Linked DNA regions of Homo sapiens: all the other regions are linked to region 5. Evidence: promoter capture Hi-C in 16 types of primary human blood cells and fetal thymus (Javierre and others, 2016). All regions are on one chromosome and are shown on one strand. The core of a region is centred on a gene start or on the middle of the fragment in contact, and the rest is flanking DNA. Distances in the headings are between cores, read along the strand shown.

Region 1 (3,539 bases), core at 974-3,473, 1.6 Mb after region 5:
AATTTGTGTAAGGAATATAGATTTTTTATTCTAAGTGAAACGGGAAGCCAACAGTTGGAGAGTTTTAAGCAGAGAGCTATACATGATGTGATTTGCATCTTAAAAGGAGCACCCTGATTGCTGTGTGGATAATACATTTGAGTGGGGGACAAAGCTGAAGACTAGATAATAGGTTTTTGCTCTTAATCACATAAGAGATCATAGTGGCTTGGACTGGAGTCCTTGTAGTAATAGAGATGGTGAGAATTGATTAGATATGGGATATGTTTGGAGAAGGATTTAACAGGATCTGCCATTTATGGATTAGATGTGGGTTTTAAGTTAAAGAGGAATCACAGTGACCCCTACGTTTGAACAACTGGGTGAATGAATGGTGTTGTCTCTATTTAAATGGGCAGTTTGAAATGGAGACTTGAGCATAATTGCAGATTGAAGTGAAGGATCCATTAGAAGGAGTAATATTGAAGTTTTTCAATATTCAAGGAAAGTAATTCATGATATAGCAAGGTGCCAGAGGACATAGACACACAAGAGGAAACTGATTGAGACATACATGCAGGAGTTAGCCTTAAAAACCAGAGGGAAGGAGACAGAAGACACAGATTTCAATAAGGAAAGGAAGTAAGTTGAAAAGCGCATATTAGATGACTTTAATCTTTAATAAAATGCTAGACCAATTACTGTATTTAGTTATGAACAGCTACATATTGTTTTGTGTTCCTCACATTAACTTTCTAATTGAAATACTTTAACAATTATGTTTATCCTTGTATAACCTATTTAATATGTATGTATATTTATGAGCATGTGTGTGTACATATACATATATAAAAAATTTTTTTTTCAAACAGGTTGTAAGTTCTACAAATGGAGAGTTAAACACAGATGACCCCACCGCAGGACGTTCAAATGCACCCATCACAGCCCCTACTGAAGTAGAAGTGATGGATGAAACCAAGTATGTGTTTGTTTTACTTGTTTTAGTAACTTTTTGTTCTTAAATTATGCATGCTTGAGATTTATAGTTACATACAATTATTTCAGGAAATTTTTTTCAGGGAATAGGTGCATGCAAAACAAGTGGTATGCTTAATTATTTTAATCACTAGAATGAGTTTAAAATAGTGCTATTCCAGTAAACATTTTAATAATACAAAATATTTAAGAACTGTGTTCAAATTCTTATTTGGAATTAACAACATATTTTTAGCTTTTGAGTTTTAGGAGTGTTGATGCATGAAAGTTATTGATGTACTATCAATCTTTTTTCTGTAAGCATAAGAAATTAATTTTATAAAATGCATGTTTTAATATTTTGAATTAGTTTTTTCAAAACATAAATTATAACAACATTGCTTGGAAAAAATTAAGCATGAAAAACAATGTGATAATTTCAATGTGAGCTGTTTCTGATTCTCTCTCTCTCTTTTTTTTCCTTGTATTTTTTTTTTTGTGTGTGCGTATAGCTGCCAGAAAGTGTTGAACATGTGGTGAGTCTCAAGTGTAGGCAGGCAGAAATAGCTCCATTGACTGTAATTTCAAAGATTTAGCATCATTTTGTGTCTTTTGAAAACAAAACTCTCAACACAGTGATTATAATTGGTAAAAGTTATTCAAAAGTATTTGATATCATTAAGATAGCTCTGAAAAGCAAGAAATAATTGTTTGAGGAGCTCTTTTGCCTGCTGCAACTTTTTTACTTTAAGTGACATAGATTTGGGGCCACTTTTTAATTGCATAGATGATACACCAACCCTGCTTGTGCTTGTGCATTTGTTTTATAATAGTTTTTATTTGCTATTTAAATAGAAAGATAGATTTTTGCATTAAGCTTTCTTTTTTCTCTTTGCAATTGTTAAATACATGTAGCAGATCTCATCCCCCACAGTAGTATCACTAAAACAGTATTTCATTTACTAACCAATTATCATTGCCCTTGAGTACAATATTGATAAATTTCATGATAACCTTGTAGTGAGAAAGCCATTTTAAAAATCCTCATCTAAATGGTTGCTAATAATTGCAGATATTATGGAAAGTAACATTAATAGAAATAATTTTAGATTTAAATTATTTTCTGACATTTGCCTTTAATTGTAATACTGTGCTTAAAATGCTTCTCTCAGTTTCAGGACAAATTTTGAGTCAGACTGGGAGTGAATAAAGGAAGTTGCTTAGTTTAGTAAATTTTGAAATATTTTACTCATATCTAAAGGCACCTTATATAATTTTCAAAATTATGCTCATTTGTTGGCTGCAAAATTAGGAAACTTTTGTGGATTTTTTTTTGTTAAAGAGCAGTGATTAAGAATCCATTTTAATCACTTTTGACTATAGAATTTATTGACATAAGATTAAGACTAGTGTATGTCAGGATATAATTAGCTATATACTTGTATATTTTTATGAACTACAGAAATAAATCCGTGAAAGTATAGTCTTACTTGTGTGTTTTTAAATCAAATATAAAAACAACAGCTTATGTTTGGGAATTTTAGGTACAATCCTAAGACAGGAAAGTAGGGTGGTGGTGTGGCAGATTCGACTGCACATGTCCTTTGCAGTTAGACATAGGTTATAGAATCCTGTTTCTGCCACTTATTTGTTACCTTCAAGAAAGCTTGTTTCTTTTTCTGTAAAATGAAGCTAATAATACCTACTTCATAGGTTGAGAAAATTAAATGTGATAAAGCCCTGGTATTTTGTCTGGCACACGGCAGGTACTCAATAGCTATTATCACCCCTATTTATTTCTTCTCTTCCAACTGCTGGTGACGTTTCTCATCTCTGTTCTTGGGCTTGTGCCTCTTTTATCTGTGTCCTATATTTTTACTTCCATACACACACTCTTCACTGAAACTGGCTGTTCTGTGTTTACATCCTCCTGGAGACTTGCTTTTAATAAAATCTATTACATTTATCCATTTATTCATTCAGCAGTTACACTGCTGAGGTTTCTGACATACCTGATGCTGTCCTTGTTCTTAAGTAGATTACAAGCCAGCAGGAAGATTGCAGTTGTACTAGTATATGTCAGTATGTGATTAATACGATAAAAAAGGTATTTTAAAAAATGGTTAGAGCTTGTAAAGATAAAGATTACTTCCTGACCTGGATGATCAGAGAATACTTGATGGAGGTGGCTCTGAAGAATGGCACAGTTATTTAGTTGGGATGAGTGTGGGTGTGTGTTTGGGTCCCTATCTGTAGACACTGGAGGATGTGAAAGAAGAAAGTGGTGGGAAGGCTATTGCTATAGGAAGGGTTCTCCATTGCCTGCCACATCATGTCCAGATTTCTTGGCATGGCACCAAGGCTTCTCATACCTGTCATAGTCTGGCCCATCTATTTTTGCAGCTCCGTTTTCCATTCTGAACTTTATATAGCATTGGTTCCTTAAATCTGCATTTGCTATGTTATCCTCTGTATGTACTTCCCACTTCTTGAAACTTACTGAATTTCTTGAAAACAGGTATTTTTTCATCCTCAGATTCCTAGTGGCTATATGTCCTAATAAATCATTACTAAATAATTAACAA
Region 2 (3,768 bases), core at 757-3,256, 1.5 Mb after region 5:
TTAATAGCCTAGTCAGTGTTTAAAAATTAGCATGCTGCACTTCTCACTGTGAACTCTGGCATAATTGTTAAGATACAGGTAATAACATTGACTGGAAACATTAAATGGATATGAGAAGAGTGTAAAGTTATCTGTATATGGGTAAACTTCAAGTAATGGTTATGTCAGAGCCAAAGGAAAGCTTCCCTTCACCCTCTGAAGGTTTGCTGAAAATCACTGACAAGAGGCAGATTACTAAGAGGAAAGGTGTACAAATTTATTTGATCATAGTTTTACTTGACATGAGAGCCTTCAGAATGAAAACCCAAAGATAGAGGGGAAATTGTCCATTTTCATGCTTGGGTTCAACAAAGTACGGAAGCTGTGTAAAAATATGATTGGACAAAAGGGTAAGATCTAATGTTAATAGGCTAAGGGGGGAAGCCCAGCATGGCCTGTCTGTCTAGATTCTTTTTGGCCTCTCTGATCATGTATTCCTTCCTTCTGAGTGAGGGGTGAGACCCTCTCAGGAATGGGACTCTTATGACCTATATTCAAACAAAGTAGGTCAGATAATTTCCCTATGACTAGTCTATTTTTTTTTTTTTTTTTTTTTTGAGACAGAGTCTCACTCTGCCATCTGTCACCCAGGCTGGAGTGCAGTGGTGAGGTCTCGGCTCACTGCAACCTCCACCTCCTGGGTTCAAGCGATTTTCTTGCCTCAGCCTCCTGAGTAGCTGGGATTACAGATATGCACCACTATGCCCAGCTAATTTTTGTATTTTTAGTAGAGACAGGGTTTTGCCATATTGGCCAGGCTGGTCTCGAACTCCTGATATGGCCAGTTTTTACGAGCAGGGTGAGAAAGTTATAATATTTTTAGATTTTATAGCTGGCTCTGAGGGAAGGGATTCTGGTTTCTATGACTCACCTCAGGGAAGAGGGATCCTAATTTCTTTGGCTAGCCTTGGGGGAAAACGAGAGTGAGAGATAGGAGGGCAGATCAGAGAAAAACTTTGCTTCTGAGGCCTTCCTTTTGGGGTACTATTTTCTGAGTCCAGTGGTTATTATATGTTGCTGCTGGCAAATTGTCCAGTTAAGAAGTTCCAAAAGAGACTATATGGCAATATATTACCTACCTTTTTGTTTGGAATTATAATATTTTTAGAAACATGTAGGAAGTCAAAATTAACTCCCTTATATCTATGTGTGCCTTTTATTATAAAGTCATCTGGTACCATGACTTTAAAAGGCACACATACTCACATGCACACAATTAAAATGAAATGGAAGACGTGAAAAACTCATAACTTAGCAATATGCTTATCAACCCCCTGGTTATTTGTTGAATTGTTCACTAGAAAGCCTTTCCTGGGTCCTCTGGTAATAGAAATAATTCTAATTATAGCACACTTCATTTTTACTGTGTAGCCCACTACAGAGCACTCTCCTCTACCTTTTTCTTCTCTTTCCTTTCTTTCTCTTTTCCCTTCTGTCATGGATTATTAATGATGGTTGGCTGTGATTTATTAGCTGTCTTGCACAGTGTTTCTTAAGTGTATCATTGACATTAGCTAATTGCCAATGCTGCAACCCTGCCATAATCCCTGTCACACTGTTTTCCGTTTAAACACTTGCTGTTTTGCCCAAACTTCCTTCACACTGATCTTCTAAAGACCAAATAAAATGCTATCTACTATTCTCTATTTATAGTAGTGCATTGATTCCGTGTGTTTAATGTCTGAAGTTTGACTTCAGGCAAGCTGAAATATATTATAAATTTTTGTGCATGTGTCATTACATACTACCTTTAAAGTTTAAAAAATCAACTAGCTCACATAATATACCAATTACCAGGCTGAAGTGATAATTCACTCTCACTTGAAAAATGAGAAGTCAACCTGATTTATAGTTTGTACCATACATTTATAGTGTATGTAACACAAAAGCATGTCTGCCCAGGCATTCTATCTTGTGACACTTCCAAATATCTACAGTAAATAATGTTCATAATGAAGAGCTTACAAGGTCTCGAATACGAGATTATGGTCCAGGTAGTTTTAGCATTGAATGCATTTAATTGTTAAGCCCTTTAGAAATGTAATGTGTGTATTGTATAGGTGTTCTAGGTGAGTATCTATTTTTAACTGTTAATTGTCATTAGTCACTTTTAACACAATGTCCTGTATGCACAAAATTGTTATATGCTCTAGGCATCTGCCTATTTCTCACTGAGATGGATTTTTTTTTTAGTATGTGAATAAGTAAGTCATTTCAGAATCCAGAAAAAACATATAATACACAGTTATAAAAGTTATTTCTCTCTAATTATCACCAGGCAGAGTCTGATATTGAATCACTAACTACCCTTTAGATCCGTAATTTAATGGCAACAAATGTGAGCATCACTTGCAGTAGCTTTAAACAGAATTCCTAACCTACTTATATACTCTGGTGGTCAATCTCAGTCTCTGCTTTCTTCCTGTGGAGGAATTGAAATTCAAACTGTTCATCATCCTGTATAAGTATAGCATGAAACTTGGCCTTGAATATTTGAGTTTCTTAATCTGTGCTTATTTTGTAAACCCCCCATAAAGCTATTTATTATTATTATTAACACATCTATCACCACTCATGCTGTACATTAGATCTCCAAAAGTTGTTCATCTTATAGCTGGAGGTTTATACCCTTTGACCAACAATCTCCTCATTTTCCCCACTCCCCAGCCCCTGGCAACTACTGTTCTACTTTCTGCTTGTATATGAATTCAATTTTTTTCTTTCTGGGACACAGTCTCGCTCTGTTGCCCAGGCTGGAGTGCAATGGCCCCATCTCAGCTCACCGCAACCTTTGCCACCCAGGTTGTAAGTGATTCTCCTGCCTCAGCCTCCCGAGTAGCTGGGATTACAGGCACCCGCCACCATGCCCAGCTAATTTTTGTGTTGTTGTTGTTTTTTTTTTTAGTAGAGATGGTTTACCATGTTGGCCAGGCTGGTCTCAAACTCCTAACCTCAGGCGATCCACCCACCTCGGCCTCCCAAAGTGCTGGGAATATAGGCGTGAGCCACCGCGCCCAGCTGAGTTCAACTTTTAAGTGAGATCTTATAGAATTTGTCTTTCTGTGTCCGGCTTATTTCACTTAGCATAATGCTCTGCAGGTTTATCTATGTTGTTGCAAATGCCAGGATTTCCTTCTTTTATGGCTGAATAACATTCTAATGTATATATGTCCCACAATTTCTTTATTCATTTATCTGTTGATGGACACTTAGGTTGTTTCCATCTCTTGGCTGCTGTGAATAATGCTTCAATGAACACAGGGGTGTAGATACTTCTTCAAGATACTGATTTCATTTTCTTCGGATATATATCTAGAAACAAAATTGCTAGATTATATCTTGTTCTATTTTTAATTATTTGAGGAAACTTCATATTGTTTTCCATAATGGCTGTACCAATTTTTATTCCCACCAACAATGTACAAGGGTTCCCTTTTCTCCATATCCTCACTGACACTTGTTATATCTTTTATTTTTCATAGTAGTCATCCTAACAGGTGTGAGGTGATACCTCATTGTGATTTTGATATGCATTTCTCTGATGATCAGTGATTTTGAGCATTTTTTCACAGATCTGCTGGGCATTTGTCTATCTTCTTTTGAAAAAATGTCAATCCGGGTCCTTTGCCCCTTCTGAAATTGGGTTACTTGAGTTTTTTCTATTGAGTTGTCTGAGTTAAGGAACTTCGATATTTTGGATATTAATCCCTTATCAGTTACATGGTTTCC
Region 3 (3,465 bases), core at 609-3,108, 1.9 Mb before region 5:
AATAGACAAAAGATGTCTCTTTAACCTTCAGTAAATGTTTGATATTTAACCTCTGTGCTCTGTATTTAGTAATAGGTTATTACTTTGTGCCTCAAACAGTTTTAATTTGTATATTATGTACATGTTTGTATATTTTTTACTGGAGTTGGGAAACGCTAACTCGATTAAAGCTTTGGTTTCTCAATTTGTTGATAACAATGTATAAAACCCTCTATTGTGCATTCATACTGCTTTAAAAAAGACAAATATTTCAACCTAACATATAGCTAGACGTGGCTCATTAAAGCACATCTTACTCTACATTTTCTTTTTGAATTTTTTGGCAGAAAAATTTACCAATGCAGAAACTTGGGACATAGTATTATTTTAATTCCTAGAAAGAAAACATTAAATAAATATATTAAAGTCATATAAATATATCTTGATTATATATAAAATCATATAGTAAAAGAAATGATTATATTTTGTTAGTCAATCTTTGTGAGATAATTCAAATTTAAATTAATATTCTAAAATTTTTCAGAGCTTATTTTCCTATTCTTAGAAAATAAAAACACCCCTAAGTAGTAATATTGTTTATGACAGTGTTTTTGCCTTTGTTAGTCATTTTCTGCTTTTAATTGTCATATTGCTCAATTGGTATTAATTTCTTTTTAAGGAAGAATTGAAAACTCAAGCAGAAAAAAATAACTAAAGAACAAAAGGCCAAATGCTGAACGTTGAATTAAGTTGGTGGAAGTGAAAAAATTTTAATATGTAAAAGATGGCATTAAAACTGCTTTTGCACACTGCCTTTGCCAGAGAGAGAAGCCAAAGGGGTTTGTTAGGAGTATAAGAAGGAGGTTTAAAAGTATTCAATAGAAATTAAATGAGAGGCACATTAGACAATTTTAAGTAATCTCATGTGGATATGAGCAAATTAAAGCAATTAAACAATCTGGTGGTGCATAGTGAAAGCCAAGTAGGATCTCCATTTCTTTCTAATGTTTAAAAATAACTTCACATTGAATGGTGGTTTATGTCCTCCAAGTTTACATTTACACAAATATTAGAGAGTTTCTCACCATCAATGCTCTGGTTGATGCCCTTCCTCCGTATGTTCTCCAGCACTGCCCCTTATAACTTATCCCCTTCATCCATTCCGCACACCACTTCCAGGTTAATTTTGCCTTTCTGAACATCTGGCAGATTTTATTGGCTGTCTATCTGGTAGCCGTTACCTCTTTTTCTTTGCTAATACCACAATTGAGTTAGAACTGCAAAACGCCCAATGCAGAGTCTTAAATCATGATTGGTCTCCTGTGACAATGGCAACCTAGTCTCTCTTGTGACATATGACCTAGTTTTGGCCATAGAGATGTAGTCAAATTTGTGCTGAGTACTTTTGGAATACATTTTTCTCACTGAGAAAGCTGCATGAGGAGGAATTTATTGTGTGGATGTATGAGAATATGAAGCCATAGGAAAAATGTCAACATACTGAGGGTGGTTGAGTAGAAAAATGCTAAAAGCTTAACACTTGGAAATGCTTAGTTCTGGACTTCTTAAGAAAATAATAAATACTTTATGGCATAAGCCACTATTAATTGGCTTTTTTGTGATTGGTTGCAAATACATTCTATATATACATTCTGTCTCCCTGTTTAGCATTTATTTTCCCTTCTTCTCATAACAGTAACTTGATATTCCTTTGAAACCATTCCTCCACTGTCTTCAGCTCACATACAGATGACATATACTTAAGCCAGTCTACACACTCCACGCTCCCCAGCCCTTCATCCAGCCGTAATGATTGCTTCACAGATAAACATATAACTTAGCTGAGACAAATAAGAATCAGGTCCAGAATGCTAGTTAGAACTTTTGGGGAAGAGATTTTTGTTTTGTTTTCTTTTGGAATTTAATCAAAGAAGACATAAGCTGGGAGCTATCACAAGTGAACATTCTATCCACAAGGGAAGCCTAAAAAGAGGAAGGTAGAACTGTGGTAGATACGAGATTCTTATAACAATCTTTGAGACTGCAGCCTGTGGTACTGTGGAATCTTTTGTAGTTTAGTCGATACCTTTTTAAAAAAGTTAAACTTAAGTCATACTGAATTAAAAGGAATCTATCTTCCCTCTGGCACTTAATTCGTTTGTCACTTTTCACATATTGAATTAAAGGATAGCTATCTGGGAATATCTCATTTATTTTGCTAATGTGTAAGCTTCCTAGGTATAAACCTGATATTTCACTCAGCACAATTTTCTGCTTTTATTTAGTAGACACACCATAAATATCTGTGGAATTGATATAAAACTCAAAAATTCTGTATATATTGGGATGACAGCCAATGTGAGATTTTCTAAGAATTTTCTTAGAATCGTAGTGTCATATTCTGAAAGTGCAATTCTCCCTTGTCAAATATCTGTGCTTCATAACTGCTCAGGGAATTTCATGTACAACTTTCTCCCTTCTTACCTATAATTTATCCTAAATTGTATTTTTTTAATTGAAAAACCTAACAATTTATTCTATGTTATGACTGGTCTGCAACTTTAAACTGCTCAAATTCTCAGTTTTTCATTTTTGTCATTGTGTATTCTCACTCTCTCTTCTCTCTTTCTCCTTCTCTTTTCTCTCTTTCCCTCTATAGCCACTGCTCCTTCTCTTTTCTCTCTTTCCCTCTATAGCCACTGCTCCTTCTCTTTTCTCTCTTTCCCTCTATAGCCACTGCTTTGCTTAGGAATCTCGTAAGTCTTATAACCCAAACCCCTACCCTTCCCAGCATCTACTAATAACTGTTTTAGCCCCTACTTCTGTGAGATCAACTATTTTAACTTTCACAAATAAGTGAGAACATATAGTATTTATGTTTCAATGCCTGGTTTATTTCACTTAACATAGTGTTCTCCAAGCTCATCCATGTTGCTGAGAATGACAAGTTTTTTTTTAATCACTAAATTGTATTCTATTGTTAATATATGTCACCTTTTCTTTATTCATCTGTTGATGTATACTTAGGCTGATTCCACATCTTAACTATTGTGAATAGTGCTTCAATAAACATAGAAGTGCAGATATTTCTTTGACATATTGATTTTCTTTGTTTTGGATTTATTCCCAGTATTGGGATTGCTGGATCATATAGTAGTTAAATTTTTAGTTTTTTTTTTAAAGGAACTTTCGTACTGTTTTCCATAATAGCTGCGCTAATGTACATTTCCACCAACAGTCTTCAAGAATTCCCCTTTCCATTCTCAACAGTATTTGTTATTTTTTGTCTTTTTGTTAGCCATTCTAACTAGCATGAGATGATACCTCATTGTAGTTTTGATTTGCATTCCTGATGATTAGTGATGCTGAGCATTTTTATTCACATACCTATTGACCATTTGTATGTCTTCTTTTGAAAAATGTGTATTCAGTTCATTGTCCCATTATAAAATTGAATTATTTGGGTTTTATTTTGATATTGAGTTG
Region 4 (3,489 bases), core at 658-3,157, 1.7 Mb after region 5:
ATTGTACAGTTACCATTCTGCCTCACTTAGTGACATCAACAAATTCGAAATCTTTAATTTATTGATAAAAATGACAACAGGAGAGGACCAGGCAAAATCCTGTCTGAAGCAGCTGCAGTCCATGTTAAGGTCAATATCAGTCCTGTCTGAAGCAGCTGTAGTCCATGTTAAGGTCAGTATTCATTGAACCAATAACATGTCTAAATGTTCTCTGTAATGTATGAGTCCTTCAACACCACTTAATTACTATTAGCTATTTATCAGAAGCTTTGCTGAAATCCAGGTAAACCATTTGGTCTGTTTCCATGCCCACTCATTCTCATTATGCCATCAAAAAAGGAATTGGATTGAGTTTGACATGAGTTTTGGATTTTATTTCCTTCTTGCCTTTTTCCCCACTTAACTTTTCAGGCTAAAGATTATTCTTGATTTTAAAAAGCTGAGCCTTACATTCTCTTCCTCATCCCTCAGCCTTTCCTTTACATATGGCTCCACATACAGATTATAGAGCTCTTTTTTTGTTGGCTTTAGCATTAAAAAGAATCTCGAGCTAATATGAAACCTTAAAGATGTTACCTTTTTTTTTTACGTTTATTTCCTATACCCTTTTAAAAGCTGAGCTTGTTAGGAGACTCTTTTCTCAAACGTTTTTGCTTTTTAGGATCACTTTTCATTGCAGAAATGAAATCAGAGTCTTGAGTTCTTTTCACAAGGTATCATAGACCTTAAGATGAGATGCTCACATTCTCTCAAGGTGCCTGACCCTTCTGCTTTATCAACAAATTCCTCTTGCTGGTCATTTTTGTGGTACAGAATAGTAGCTTCAATTTTTGCTTTCTCTATTTCCTGGAAGATTAGATTTTAGGCATATAAAGAATTTACAGAATTTCTGGGTTTAAAGTTTTTTTGTTTTTGTTTTTAGTTATTACAAGTACATGATAGGTATCTATATGGGGCACATGTGATGTTTTGATACAGGCATACAATGTGTAATAATGACATCAGGGTAATTAAGTTATCCAGCACTTCAAGCATTTGTCATTTGTGTCAGGAACATTCCAATTTCATTCTTAGTTGTTTTAAAATATGTAATAAATTATTGTTGACTATAGCCACATTGTGCTACCAAATACTAGATCTTATTCATTAGATCTAACTGTATATATGTGTGTGTGTATATATATGTGTATACATACACATATGTGTATATACGTGTATACATACACATATGTGTATATACACGTGTATATATGTGTATATATACACGTGTATATACGTGTATATATACACGTGTATATATGTGTATGTGTGTATATATACACGTGTGTATATGTATATATACACATGTGTGTATATGTGTATATATACACGTGTGTGTATATGTGTGTATATATACACGTGTGTATGTGTGTATATATACACGTGTGTGTATATGTGTGTATATATACACGTGTGTATGTGTGTATATATACACGTGTGTATATGTGTGTATATATACACGTGTGTGTATATGTGTGTATATATACACATACATTAATTTGAGACAGAGTCTAGCTCTGTCTCCCAGGCTGGAGTGCAGTGGCACGATCTCAGCTAACCTCTGGTTTAACTGAGTAGCTGAGACTACAGGTGTGCACCACCATACCTGGCTAATTTTTGTATTTTTCGTAGAGATGGGGTTTCACCATATTGGCCAGGCTGGTCTCGAACTCCTGATCTTAAGTGATCCGCCTGCCTTAGCCTCCCAAAGTGCTGAGATTACAGGTGTGAGCCGCCATACCCAGCTCTATCTAACTATATTTTGTGCCCATAATACCATCCCCAGTTTATCCCACACCACCCCCCTCCCCGCTACCCTTCAAAGCCTCATAACCATCCTTCAACTCTTTATCTCCATGAGATACATTGTATTGATTTTTAGCTCCCACAAAAGAGAACATCAGAAACCCTAGCTGAAGTAAAATAAGAATTAGAAATTTCCAGACAATTGGGGGCCTCTATCACTACTCAATTTTATGTTTAGTATTTTATGCTCCTCTTGAACACCTTGTGTCAGGCAGTGACTTGTGTGCTTAAATACTGATTTTCTTTAACTGGCCTGGCCTTTTGTAATGTACTTTCATAATGGTATCTTAATTTCCCCTCTCTTTGCTCAAATATTTTCCACAGTGCATTTACCTTGGGTGTACTAAATTTCATTGCAAGTATACATCCTCTCAGTATACTCCTCTGCCCCTTCCTTCTCATAAGTGTGTATTCCAGTCAGAAACCTCATCATACCATGTCAACGATTTCTATGTCTTACTTACACTACCCTGATTTGTTTGTAAGTCTTCTTGATCATAGTCTTGTATGTGCATTAGTGTGAAGACTTCTTGGTATTGTTTTCAAACTTCCTGCTCAGTTTTCTGGAGTGAATCATTTGGTCATCTCTAACCAGATGGTAGATGGTATATATAACAATCCCTTTCATGATTTTTATCTTCTATTTTCACCTTCATCCTCATTGCAAAAAAATCATTTAAACATGTCAATTATTCTTATACCATTACATTCTAGCCATCTTAAATTAAGTCTTGGAAATGAAAATCTCATTTTAAATGTCATATAGGTAGAAAATCAATCATGTCTTCCTTGTACAGTATTTTGTCCTGAATCCTTTATTGACTTTGTCAGGTGCCCTAAATGTCCTGTATTTATTAGGCTTTTTTTTTTTGATAAATTGCAAGAATATTGGCAATTAGAGCTATTTTTACTCCACAGTAATGTGGAATGCTTAAATTACTTATGTGGTAACAGCAGCTGAAAATTATTCCTCCACAAATAAACATCTGAACAATCCCTTATCTCTCCTACAGGTTTCAATGAATACCAAAAGTGGGGAGTAAGACTTGAAAGTACTTACATTTCATATTCAAGAAAGAAAAAGGCTATTTGAATTTTAGCCAAAGCCTGAAGTTGTGAACAAGTAACCACTGTTAATTTAAGATAACTTTAATAAATATACAAAAAAAATCAATCAATGACATCATCCATTGGCCATGCTTCTGAAAATAAGCTAGTCAACAACAGCTTCATTCTAGTCTTCTGAAAGTAAGCAAGTTAATGACAGCCCCATGCTTCTAGACAACAGCTGATCAGCAAGTGCCTTGCTCCAATAACCAGGCTTTAGAAAGTCTGTTGGTCAACAGCAGCTTTTTCCAGTGAAATACCACACCCAGGAATATAATCAGCCTTTTTGACTTCTTTTAACCCTGCTGCACCTTTCTAAATAGTCAATTTATTACACTTTTTTCTGCTACGTTATTACTGTTACCCTCTCTTTCCTTCTGTTACACTAAGATTCCAGGAAAAATGTTTCAAAAATGGGTTCTTCTTTTTAAAAATGCTTGAAAAGCATTGCCCTAAATAATGTGAAATATTAAACTTAGTATGGAGTGCTTAGGAAATCAGAAAACTATACACTCTGTATTCTGTATACTATGTCCT
Region 5 (3,472 bases), core at 676-3,175:
ATAATGCACCAAACTAAAAGAATGCCAATTTCTTTTACCAAGTCAGAGCTATTCTAAGCGGAGTTCAGTTTTATGAGATAACAGCATGGGTTCTGGACAAGGCTGGTTTCTTCGGCAAAGGCTCAGAAGTGGGCCTTGGTTAACTAAGCTTTGGGCACAGTCTTGAAATTATTAGTGATTTCCTTTTTGAATTTGAGTTTTGTAAGTGAAGTCTAGTGGGATAATGGAACATGTGCCAAGGCCTTGTTGTCTCAGGTCATGTGTGGTCCTGTCCCCAAAAGCTCCTCAGGTGGATTCTCTGGTTTCCTGCTCTCCTGTCTCCACCCAGCAACTGCTGCCACCTTGCTCCAGTGTATACACTCCTACCTGAGTCTTGGGGCAGGGGTCTCAGGCACCTTTGAGGGTCTGCCCTGACAACCTAATGTCTCTGTGCTTTAGGGAGCATCGTATTAAATAGTAAATTAACAAACACCATGATGAGTCAAGAGACGCTATGGAAGAAACTTTTTTTTTTTTTTGAGACGAAGTTTCACTCTTGTTGCCCAGTCTGGAGTGATCTTGGCTCACGGCAACCTCCGCCTCCCAGGTTCAAGTGATTCTCCTGCCTCAGCCTCCCGAGTAGCTGGGATTACAAGCATGCGTCACCACGGTCGGCTAATTTTGTATTTTTAGTAGAGACGGGGTTTCTCCACGTTGGTCAGGCTGGTCTCGAACTCCCGACCTCAGGTGATCCGCCCGCCTAGGCTTCCTAAAGTACTGGGATTACAGGCATGAGCCACCACCCTCCGCCGGAAGAAACGTTTTTCCTGCATTTTGAATAAAGGGGCCTGGATTTTCATTTTGCACTGTACCCCAGGTATTATGTAGCTGGACTTGAAGTCCTGTAGCAGTGGACAGTCCCAGGCAAGTGACTCTGGGCGAGGCACTTGGTGCCTCTGAAGTCACTTTCCACATCTGTAAAATAATAGTTCAGAGCAGAGTAGGGTGGCTCACTCCTGTAGTCCTAGTTATTTGGAAGGCTGAGGTGAGAGGATGGCTTGAGCCCAAGAGTTTGAGGCTGCAGTGAGCTATGACTGTGCCACTGCACACCAGCCTGGATGACAAAGAGAGACTGGGTCTCTAACAAAATAATATTAATAAAAGGAAAATAATTTCTATCTTGTTGGATTTCTGTGGAGATTTGGAGCTAATTTATGTAAAGCTCTTGGACCACCATTTGACACATTTTAATGGTCAATACTAGAAGGTGTTGACAATTATATATTACCTAATTCAAACACACTCCCTTACGTCTCCTATGCTTGCCGGCTAATAAACAGCCATTCCCACAGGCAGTACCAAATGTGTATCCTGGTTTTGCTTCAAATGTTTATTCCCTAAATTTAAACCCTTCTATAGTGTGCAGGAAAAAAATGTCCGCACCTCAGCTATAATGTCAGGTTGTAACAAAAAACTGCGAGGATTTAAAAAGGTGTGCTTGTTAGAAAAGCAGAAATCTTCACAAATACTAGATTTAAAAAAATGGAAGCAAAAAATCGTTCATTCAAGTGATCATTTCAGAAGAGCTCTTTCACCGCCGTTCAGCGCCCCCCTAGCCATTAGAGAGAAAAACCAAGGCCGGTACAATGCGAGCGCAGTGTACCAAGGGAACACACACACACACACACACACACACACACACACACACACACACACACAAACCGAATCTTGAAAAACTAGACGTTGCCCAGCTACCAGCCCCCGTCTGGTTTCCATAGGAACGCGCAATTCCGTTGCGTAGCCCTCTGCGCCGGTAGTTGTTCTGTCTCAGTTCCGGTTTTCCCTTCCAAGCGTCAATGTTTCTTGTTCCCAGGCGGCAGCTAGAGCAGAAGGCGGATGAGTTTTGGACAGAAGAGGCTTCCGTTGAGGGGCGTGGCGACGCAGCCGCGGTCTGAGAGACCGGTTCACGTGCAGGCAGCGGCGGATCATATTCCTTCATCTACCATGGCTCAGCCGGGAACTCTGAACCTCAATAACGAGGTGAGCGCCGAGGAACCTATGGGGCTGACTTTAAGGGTCCTCAAAACCAGCTCTTTTGAGACGCGTGGTCGGAGGCGGGCATAGAGGGTGCGGTTGGAGGAACTTTCGTGGTGGGCCCAGGCGGGTTTCCCGCAACTTGGAGTTTGGCAACCGGTAATTTCCCTTTTCGGTCTCCAGGTGACTAAAGTGAGAGACATGTGTCAGGCCCCACGAATTTATGTCTGTGGGACTTTGGGAAGAACCTTTAGCCTGTACGTTCAATATTCTCGTCTGTAAAGCGGAACTCAAGATAGTTCGTCCCAGGGTTGTGAGATTAACTGAGATACGTAAAGTATTTGCAAGTGCCTGACCCTTAATAAACTTTCAGTACACATTACCTGCTCTTTATTGCCTGTCGAAAATGAAAGAGAGAAAGTAAGAGCTGTAGCTTCTAAGAAATTGGTGGTCTTGAATGAGACTGTATGCTCAGTACTTCGTTTCCTCTTCCAGTTAGTGTCCTATTTCTTTGCTTCCGTTTACAGCAGAACTTCAATAAAGAGCTGTTTATACTTGCTATCCTCAATTCTTTTTTCTGCTTTTTCAGTCCATTCTCATCAGACATTTGTTCTCACCACCGTCACTTCCATAGTGTGCGGTGTCGACAAAATACCATTTCTACCACTTATCCCCCTCTGGTTTCTGCTTCTATTCAACAAAATAATGTCATCCAAAGTCTTAAAGTAAGCTGGAAACATAAGGATCGAGTAAGGACCTCACAGTTAGATACAGAAAGGAAATTCTTTATCCCGTTTATGAGCAAGTCACTGTTTAGATTACACACAGTAGTGTAAGGGATATTTCATATTTTCTAGTAACCTATACTCAAGTAAGAGAGCTAAGCAACACTCACCTGTGTTACAGAACAATGTGTGAAGAATGCCTCCAAAACCTAGTAATGCAGAAAAGTTTCCAAAGGCGGCAAAATGAAATGGGTGATACTTGTCCTTGGTCTTTAGGGATCTTGCACAGGAATTGCAGTCAGTGATTCAGGAAAGGGGAAGAAGTCATTCCAGGCAGAGGGACTGGTATAAGCAGGAAAGGGCTAGTAGCAGAAGAACCCGTGGGTAATACAGGGATAAGTAACTCTTCACTGATGGGAACTTGTGAGATGAAGAAGGAAATAAAACTGAAATATATTCTCTGCTGCCAGATTAACGAGTCAGGATTTCAGTTGACAGTGGAGTACAGGATATGCTGAAGAGGGAAGCTGAAAGTAGTTACTATTTACTCATAAACATACATTAAGCTTGTGCTTTGTGCCAGAAAGCGTTTGGTGGGCTATTTTGCATTAGGTTACCTGTGATGTATGAAAGATCAGAGTAATGTCCCTGGGATTTCAACCCCAGGGAGCTTCATATCAAATTTTGTAATGACTTTGATGATGGAAATGACAGGGGATGAGTCATTAAAGACT
Region 6 (3,241 bases), core at 250-2,749, 1.5 Mb before region 5:
CTCATCATTACAAAAAGTGGGGTATAGAGAAGGCAGAGTTTCCAAAATTTTATGTCAGTTGAAACTGCTGGAACATACTTTGAAAAATGCTGTTATAGAGGGATTTGCTTAATCAAGTAATTCTGGAAAGCAGCCAAATCCTAAACAGTGAAGTTAGCAAGTTCCTTGATGCACACAGAAGATCAATCAAAGTAAACACCGAAAAGAATAACCATGGCTAACGTTTGTTCAGTAATTCACAGATAATAAAACATTCTCACATAATTATCTCTTCTGATTCTCCACCCATTTTTGATAAATAAGTATTATATCCACGTGTGCAGATAAAGAAGCAAATGCTATTGGAGTTTTAGTGTCTAAAATTACAAAGCTGTTGGCAGAACATTAGTCTCAAATGTAAAATGTCCAATCCATCGCGTTTCCGTTATAACCTGCTGCTTTACTGTTGAAAAAAGGAAGAGGTCTTATTCTTCTTATAAGGTTACTAGTCCTAGATTAAAGGCCCCACCCTCACCACTTCATACAACCTTCATTACTTCCCAGTGGCCTTATCTCCAAATATTCTCACATCGGAGGTTAGGGCTTCAACATAGGAATTTTGGTGAGGAGACACAAACATCAAATCGATAACAATATCATTTTATACAGTTGAAGACAGGCTTGAGGCATAAATCATAGCTCACCGACTTGTGGTAAGGAGGGGGTAGATAGTGGAAGCAGCATGCCAATTAAATAGATTAGTGGCATCATTGTAGATCGAAATGATTTTATCAAGGTCCACCAGTTCAGATTGGCATGCTGTCTAAGGCCTTACACTTTAGCCTTACACAGAATGCCCTTACGTACTTGCCAGGCTGCAGATCTATGTCAGTCATTCCATTCCAGTTCCTGGATGAAGAACTAAAACTGCATACTCTATGTGGTCACACACAGTATTGGTGACCACCTAACACCTAATGGAGTATGGTTTTATATCTGAAGGTCATGGGGTATAGCTTTTGACAACTTATTTGTCCTCTGTGATTTTATCCTTGATCACAGTTACTCATTTCCTTGGAGCGGGGAAAGGACCTTGAAACTTAATAAGGACAGAAATCTCCAAGTACCTTCAAAATTATCTGGGTATCTGAATGATTGTATAGGGCTTTCAATTATCTTGATGCATGCGTGTATTGAGTTCTGCTAAGTGATTAAGGTGTCCTCTGTTCTAGCTGAATCCACTTCCAAGGAAAGGGGCTGTTAAGCTGTGTAGAGTGGCAATTGGCCAAATTTTAGGAACAACTCCCTGGCCACGGCTGTGAGTGTCCTGGAATATGTAAAGTCCTAGGTTCTCTTACCACTTAATCCAGCAATTTGAAGCTGTGAGGTAGAATGAGTTTGGGACTACCCTGTTAGGCACTGGCCTCAGGGTTTCTGGACAAGTGGTAATTCCTAAAAACTTGAGTGAAATGGAGTAATCGTTTGAGCATTGCTTGCTCTTTTGGTAGGCAGTTCAACAGAGGACTGGGATGTTTGAGGTGAGATATTTATAGATGGGACCTGAGCCTGAGATTGGAAAGGATGAGGGGGTTGGTGGCTCTTGGCATGGGTAAACTGAATGCCAAATCTAGGACTTGATAGATGCTAATTTGGGGAAGCAAAAACAACTAAAAAATGTCCATCTGTGAGATAAAAGTAAAGTATATAATCCGTAGGGTCTAGCCCTACAGGGCCTGTGGGTTTTTCTCTTCATGTGCGGAGACAAGAGATCGTAGAAATAAAGACACAAGACAAAGAGATAGAAGAAAAGACAGCTGGGTCTAGGGGACCACTACCACCAAGGCGCGGAGACCAGTAGTGGCCCCGAATGGCTGACCGCACTGCTATTTATGTATACAAGGCAAAAGGGGCAGGGTAAGCAGTGTGAGTCATCTCCAACGATTGATAAGGTCACGTGAGTCACGTGTCCACCGGACAGGGGGCCTTTCCCTTTTAGGTAGCTGAGGTGGGGAGAGGACAGCTTACGTCATTATTTCTTCTACACTCTTCTCAGAAAGATCAAAGACTTTAACACTTTCACTAATTCTGCCACTGCTATCTAGAAGGCGGAGCCAGGTGTATAGAGCGGAACGTGAAAGTGAAACAGGAGTGTGACCGCTGAAGCACAGCATCACAGGGAGACATTTAGGCCTCCAGATGGCTGCAGGCAGGCTTGACTGATGTCAGGCCTTCCACAAGAGGTGGTGGAGCAGAGTCTTATCTAACTCCCCCGGGGAAAGGGAGACTCCCTTCCCCCGTCTGCTAAATAAGGGGTGCCTTCCCAGGCACTGGCGCTACCGCTGGACCAAGGTCCTCTAGGCAACTGGCACCTTCCCAGGCACTGGCGTTACCGCTAGACCAAGGAGCCCTCTAGTGGCCCTGTCTGGGCGTGACAGAGGGCTCATACTCTTGCCTTCTGGTCACTTCTCACCGTGTCCCTTCAGCTCCTATCTCTGTATGGTCTGGTTTTTCCTAGGTTATAATTGTAGAACAGAGGTTATTATAATATTGGAATAAAGAGTAATGCTACAAATTAATGATTAATAATATTCATATGTAATCATATCTATATTCTATTTCTAGTATAACTATTCTTATTCTATATATTTTCTTTATGATACTGGAACAGCTTGTGCCCTCGGTCTCTTACCTTGGCACCTGGGTGGCTTGCTGCCCACAATAATCCAATATAAATACTATATGGTGGAGATATATATATATATATATATATATATATAGTTTTTATTTTTTCAGAGGTATGTCACCTTCTGAGGGGGAAGAAATAGGCCGCAGGGTAGGCAATTTTATCCAATTTGAGTGAATCATTATACTTCTTCACTACCGGTTACTGACCCATGAAGGATGACTGCTAATTCATATGTTGTCTTTCTTTGCATTAATTTTGAAAATAGAATCACTTTCTAAAAATACATAATTTCCAACTATCAGAAAATTATCATAATATACATATTTTGAGAGAATAACTCATTTCACGGACATCTGCTGGAAAATCATAGTAATAAATATACACACCCATGACTTTTCTATAAGAATGGCACAAATGTAATAGTAGCTTTGTACTCTACAACCCCATCCAAATCACAGTGATTGGCTGTAGTGTGTGTCCATGATCTAAGCCAGATCTATAAAAATTTTCTCCTGGGAGCTTGCTGTGATGACCATCCTTTTCTAGTTGTAAAGTTGTGAAAATGTGAGCCTGAAC
Region 7 (3,450 bases), core at 710-3,209, 1.6 Mb after region 5:
TTATCACTTATAGTTACTAGATCTGTATTTTGTATTTATATGTTGAACTTTTGGAAATTAATTTATACATAATGAAAGAACAAACTCTCCATTCTTCCATTCTTAACTGTTAGAGAAAAGTGAAATTTATATTTCTTTTGTATTTCAGAACAAAGTAGAAGAGACGATTTAGAAGCTTTAGGTCATATGTTCATGTATTTTCTGAGAGGCAGTCTTCCTTGGCAAGGCTTAAAGGTAATTGTTTTTGTGTTTCTTTATTGAATTTCATAAAATATTAAGATATTAAGGTCCTGTCTTCCAACTAAACAGTTTTCATATTTTAAAATTTTATTTTGTAAGTAGGCATCAGGGCTCCCTGTGTTGCCCAGGCTGGTCTCAAACTCCTGGGCTCAAGCATTCCTTCTGCCTTGGCCTTCCAAAGCTCTGTGATTACAGGCTACCGTGTGCAGTCCCAGCTAAATAATTTTTAAATTACCACATTCTCAAGATTTTTTTTTTCTGTTTTAGGCTGACACATTAAAGGAGAGGTATCAGAAAATTGGAGATACAAAACGGGCTACACCAATAGAAGTGTTATGTGAAAATTTTCCAGGTAATGAATAATGTGAGGTTGATACATTATATACAGAAAACTAGAAATGCTAATTTTTATTGCTTAAGTTTATACATATTTTTTTCTATGCTTAAAAAAAAAAGAGCTAAAAATATGATTTAAAGGTTGTCAGCATTTGATGCCGAACCCACAGGGACACTTTGTGTATTTGCTTTGCAAATGGTATTAATAGAAGAAAATCCTGTCTGTTAATAGTGTTGATCATTACCAGCTGAAGTAATATTTTCTTTAGTGATATACTTTTAATGAGTTAAAATTTTTGCTAAGAAATGCCAGTTACAAAGTTTTGGTATTCAGTGTTAGTCATTTGGGTCTCAATGTCAAGTTCAAAGGAGGTATGTGAAGTATGATTTGGTTTAGTTTTCAAATTAAACTTAAATTAAGTAAGGCCAGTAAAACCTTACTGACCTCACTAGTTTGGGGCTAATTTTATATTGGGGAGCTGTATGCATTTATGAAAATAATTTTGCTTTCAAGTAGATTTATGGCAACTCAAATTAAGCCAAAAAAAATTTACTTAAGATTTCTACATCAATTAAGGAATAAGAATAACTTGTTAGTATATTAAGATAATGACTGTGATTTATTTGTGCAGCCACATTAAGTGAAAAGAGAGCTAAATTTGAAGATAAAATACGGAATTCCTATCTCACTTTAGTATTCCGTAGTTCTCCTGTATAATGCTGGCGTTATTAATGTAATAATAATATTATCAACATAACAAAAGTAGCTCTTTCTCAAGCTTGTTTATATTATTCATTGACAGCAAACTTTAATTATATATTTTCCTTTCTTGCTATAATATCTAGAAGTAGATTTTTTAAAATGTCGGTTAATAGTACTAGCAGTTTAGTGTAGGCAGATAGGGTAGTTGTCATTAAGGAAGCCTATATAAAGGTGGGAAAAATGGGGTTGCCAAATCAAATTAGCCAGGTATTTAGCTAGAAAGTGGAATAGTGGGAGAGTCACCACCTAAAGAAGGTCACTGCACACCACTTTTGTTGCCTCATTGTGCTGGGTGTGATCTTTTTCCTGTTGGCTGGGGCTGCCTGTGAATGCTAGGTGTAACTTACCATCTCTTACTGTAGTGATTTTCTGTGCCCTGATGGTGAAATGCCCTGCTTTACTAATTGCTCACCATTTTGCCCATTGTTTTATATTTATATATTTGTTTGTCTGTTTGTTTGTTTTTGCATGTATTAGATACATGTATCTAATACATTTTGGAATTATAATAGCATGCAGAGATTTGTATATCGCCAAATAATTGTTAAATATATGACCAGAAATTAAGAGAAGACTTACACTGTCCTCTTGTGTTATGTTTTTGAGATTTGTTTTAGCTTTCCTTTGTTAGCTTAATTGGTTAGAATACTGCTCAAAGCCAAGGTTAGGAATTTGAATTCTCTATTAGTTAGTTGGTTTATGTCACTGATTCTAAAGGAAATCCAGCAAGCCAATACAGATGCTTTCATATAAATCAGTTCTCACCGGTATTTTAAATAAAATTTTAAATTTATAAACTGAATATGATGCTTTGTGATTAATCATGCATTATTAAACTGCTTATTCAACTTCTCATACTACCAAATATTAAAAATAATCTTATAAAAATGAAAATTTTAGCTTTTCCTAATGAAATGAAGCAAAAATAGTGGTTGTTAAACTAAACCTCCCATTTTTCTTGTGTCTCTATTCCCTTCCTTCTTTTCCTCTTTTTTATTTTGTTGTAATTAAACTCAGAAAAATTTAAATTGCAATGTAATTTTGTTACTTTTCAAGTGTTTTTATATAATACAATGTGCTTTTAGATACTTAATTTTATTACTGAGTATTAAAGAAAAGTATAGTCCAAATAATTTTTATATTATTTCTAGAAGAAATGGCAACATATCTTCGTTATGTAAGAAGGCTAGATTTTTTTGAAAAACCAGACTATGACTACTTAAGAAAGCTTTTTACTGACTTGTTTGATCGAAAAGGATATATGTTTGATTATGAATATGACTGGATTGGTAAACAGTTGGTGAGTATTCTATATAATAATATATTACTTACAGTATCTGTTGCCTTTTTAATAGTACAATATCTTCAATTGAAAAGAGTTGAGAACAAATAGTTGTTTTAAAGGATTCATTTTATTGTTTTTTAAGGGACATTTCTGCAGGTAGTGCCGTACTAGTGTTCTTTGAGTTTTTCAGAAGCCCTACATCTGGATTCTTTGCCTTTTAGCATGAAGAGTTACTTTTAACTTTTCATCCTGATTTAGTTCTTAATGTCAAATATACTCTTTTTTGTGTAATATTCTCATGATTAATTTAATACTTCAATCCCTTGATGAAAATTAAAATTTGTATGAGTCTCTTCAAGTCAAAATATTGGAAATAAGTAATTTTATTAGTTTTTTTATTCTTTTAATTTTCTTAAAAGTTTATTCTATGTATACATTTGCTTTGGAAATGAGAGGCATAAACATATACATTTTTATCATGTTGATATGAAAATGTAGCCTAAAAGTAATGGCAGCATTAAGTGTTCTGTAGATGTAAAAATAAGTACTTTATAAAGAATTTGAATATTTTAAAAACACTTTAAAAAGTAGGTATATTCTTTTTGCTTTACCTTCTTAGCTTTAACAACATATTTTGATAATGATGCCTTTACTTAAAGCCTTAGTTTATTTAACAGTCTTTTGTTTTTTTCCTTAATTCTTTTAAGCAGCTAAATGATTTTAAATAAGAATTTTAAAATGGAATGTATTGATACCAATTGTTATTGTATTGTAGCCTACTCCAGTGGGTGCAGTTCAGCAAGATCCTGCTCTGTCATCAAACAGA

Evidence for each region. The method cuts DNA at HindIII sites, captures the fragments that hold promoters and counts their contacts. A CHiCAGO score of 5 or more calls a contact.
Region 1: a contact is called between a fragment that was not itself captured here and the fragment with the promoter of SRFBP1 in region 5, in 3 of 17 cell types (non-activated CD4 T cells, total CD4 T cells and naive CD8 T cells). The highest score is 9.7, in non-activated CD4 T cells.
Region 2: a contact is called between a fragment that was not itself captured here and the fragment with the promoter of SRFBP1 in region 5, in 1 of 17 cell types (total CD4 T cells). The highest score is 6.2, in total CD4 T cells.
Region 3: a contact is called between a fragment that was not itself captured here and the fragment with the promoter of SRFBP1 in region 5, in 1 of 17 cell types (naive B cells). The highest score is 6.3, in naive B cells.
Region 4: a fragment that was not itself captured here is called in contact with the fragment with the promoter of SRFBP1 in region 5 in 1 of 17 cell types (total CD4 T cells); the score reaches 5.1 in total CD4 T cells.
Region 6: a fragment that was not itself captured here is called in contact with the fragment with the promoter of SRFBP1 in region 5 in 2 of 17 cell types (total B cells and naive B cells); the score reaches 6.2 in total B cells.
Region 7: a fragment that was not itself captured here is called in contact with the fragment with the promoter of SRFBP1 in region 5 in 4 of 17 cell types (naive CD8 T cells, non-activated CD4 T cells, total CD8 T cells and 1 more); the score reaches 9.7 in naive CD8 T cells.

What each region holds. Positions count from the first base shown.
Region 1 is chr5:123,603,873-123,607,411 of GRCh38, forward strand. CSNK1G3 (casein kinase 1 gamma 3) reads left to right here. Exons shown (of 14, transcript NM_001364140.2): 12 at 852-958; 13 at 1,467-1,490. Among named protein-coding and RNA genes, the nearest start is that of CSNK1G3, 93 kb to the left of the region's middle. The HindIII fragment of the contact is 789 bases long and covers 1,830-2,618 here.
Region 2 is chr5:123,460,517-123,464,284 of GRCh38, forward strand. No RefSeq gene overlaps it. Among named protein-coding and RNA genes, the nearest start is that of CEP120, 39 kb to the left of the region's middle. The HindIII fragment of the contact is 3,654 bases long and covers 180-3,768 here.
Region 3 is chr5:120,097,355-120,100,819 of GRCh38, forward strand. No RefSeq gene overlaps it. Among named protein-coding and RNA genes, the nearest start is that of PRR16, 370 kb to the right of the region's middle. The HindIII fragment of the contact is 698 bases long and covers 1,510-2,207 here.
Region 4 is chr5:123,621,290-123,624,778 of GRCh38, forward strand. No RefSeq gene overlaps it. Among named protein-coding and RNA genes, the nearest start is that of CSNK1G3, 110 kb to the left of the region's middle. The HindIII fragment of the contact is 3,284 bases long and covers 266-3,489 here.
Region 5 is chr5:121,960,050-121,963,521 of GRCh38, forward strand. It overlaps SRFBP1 (serum response factor binding protein 1), which reads left to right and starts at 1,926. Exons shown (of 8, transcript NM_152546.3): 1 at 1,926-2,019. The coding sequence starts at 1,984. RefSeq lists enhancers at 1,579-2,117, 1,862-1,911. The HindIII fragment of the contact is 3,156 bases long and covers 147-3,302 here.
Region 6 is chr5:120,456,072-120,459,312 of GRCh38, forward strand. No RefSeq gene overlaps it. Among named protein-coding and RNA genes, the nearest start is that of PRR16, 6.6 kb to the right of the region's middle. RefSeq lists an enhancer at 1,789-2,358. The HindIII fragment of the contact is 5,893 bases long and covers 1-3,241 here.
Region 7 is chr5:123,587,920-123,591,369 of GRCh38, forward strand. CSNK1G3 (casein kinase 1 gamma 3) reads left to right here. Exons shown (of 14, transcript NM_001364140.2): 7 at 149-234; 8 at 508-592; 9 at 2,491-2,639; 10 at 3,400-3,450. Among named protein-coding and RNA genes, the nearest start is that of CSNK1G3, 77 kb to the left of the region's middle. The HindIII fragment of the contact is 1,212 bases long and covers 1,354-2,565 here.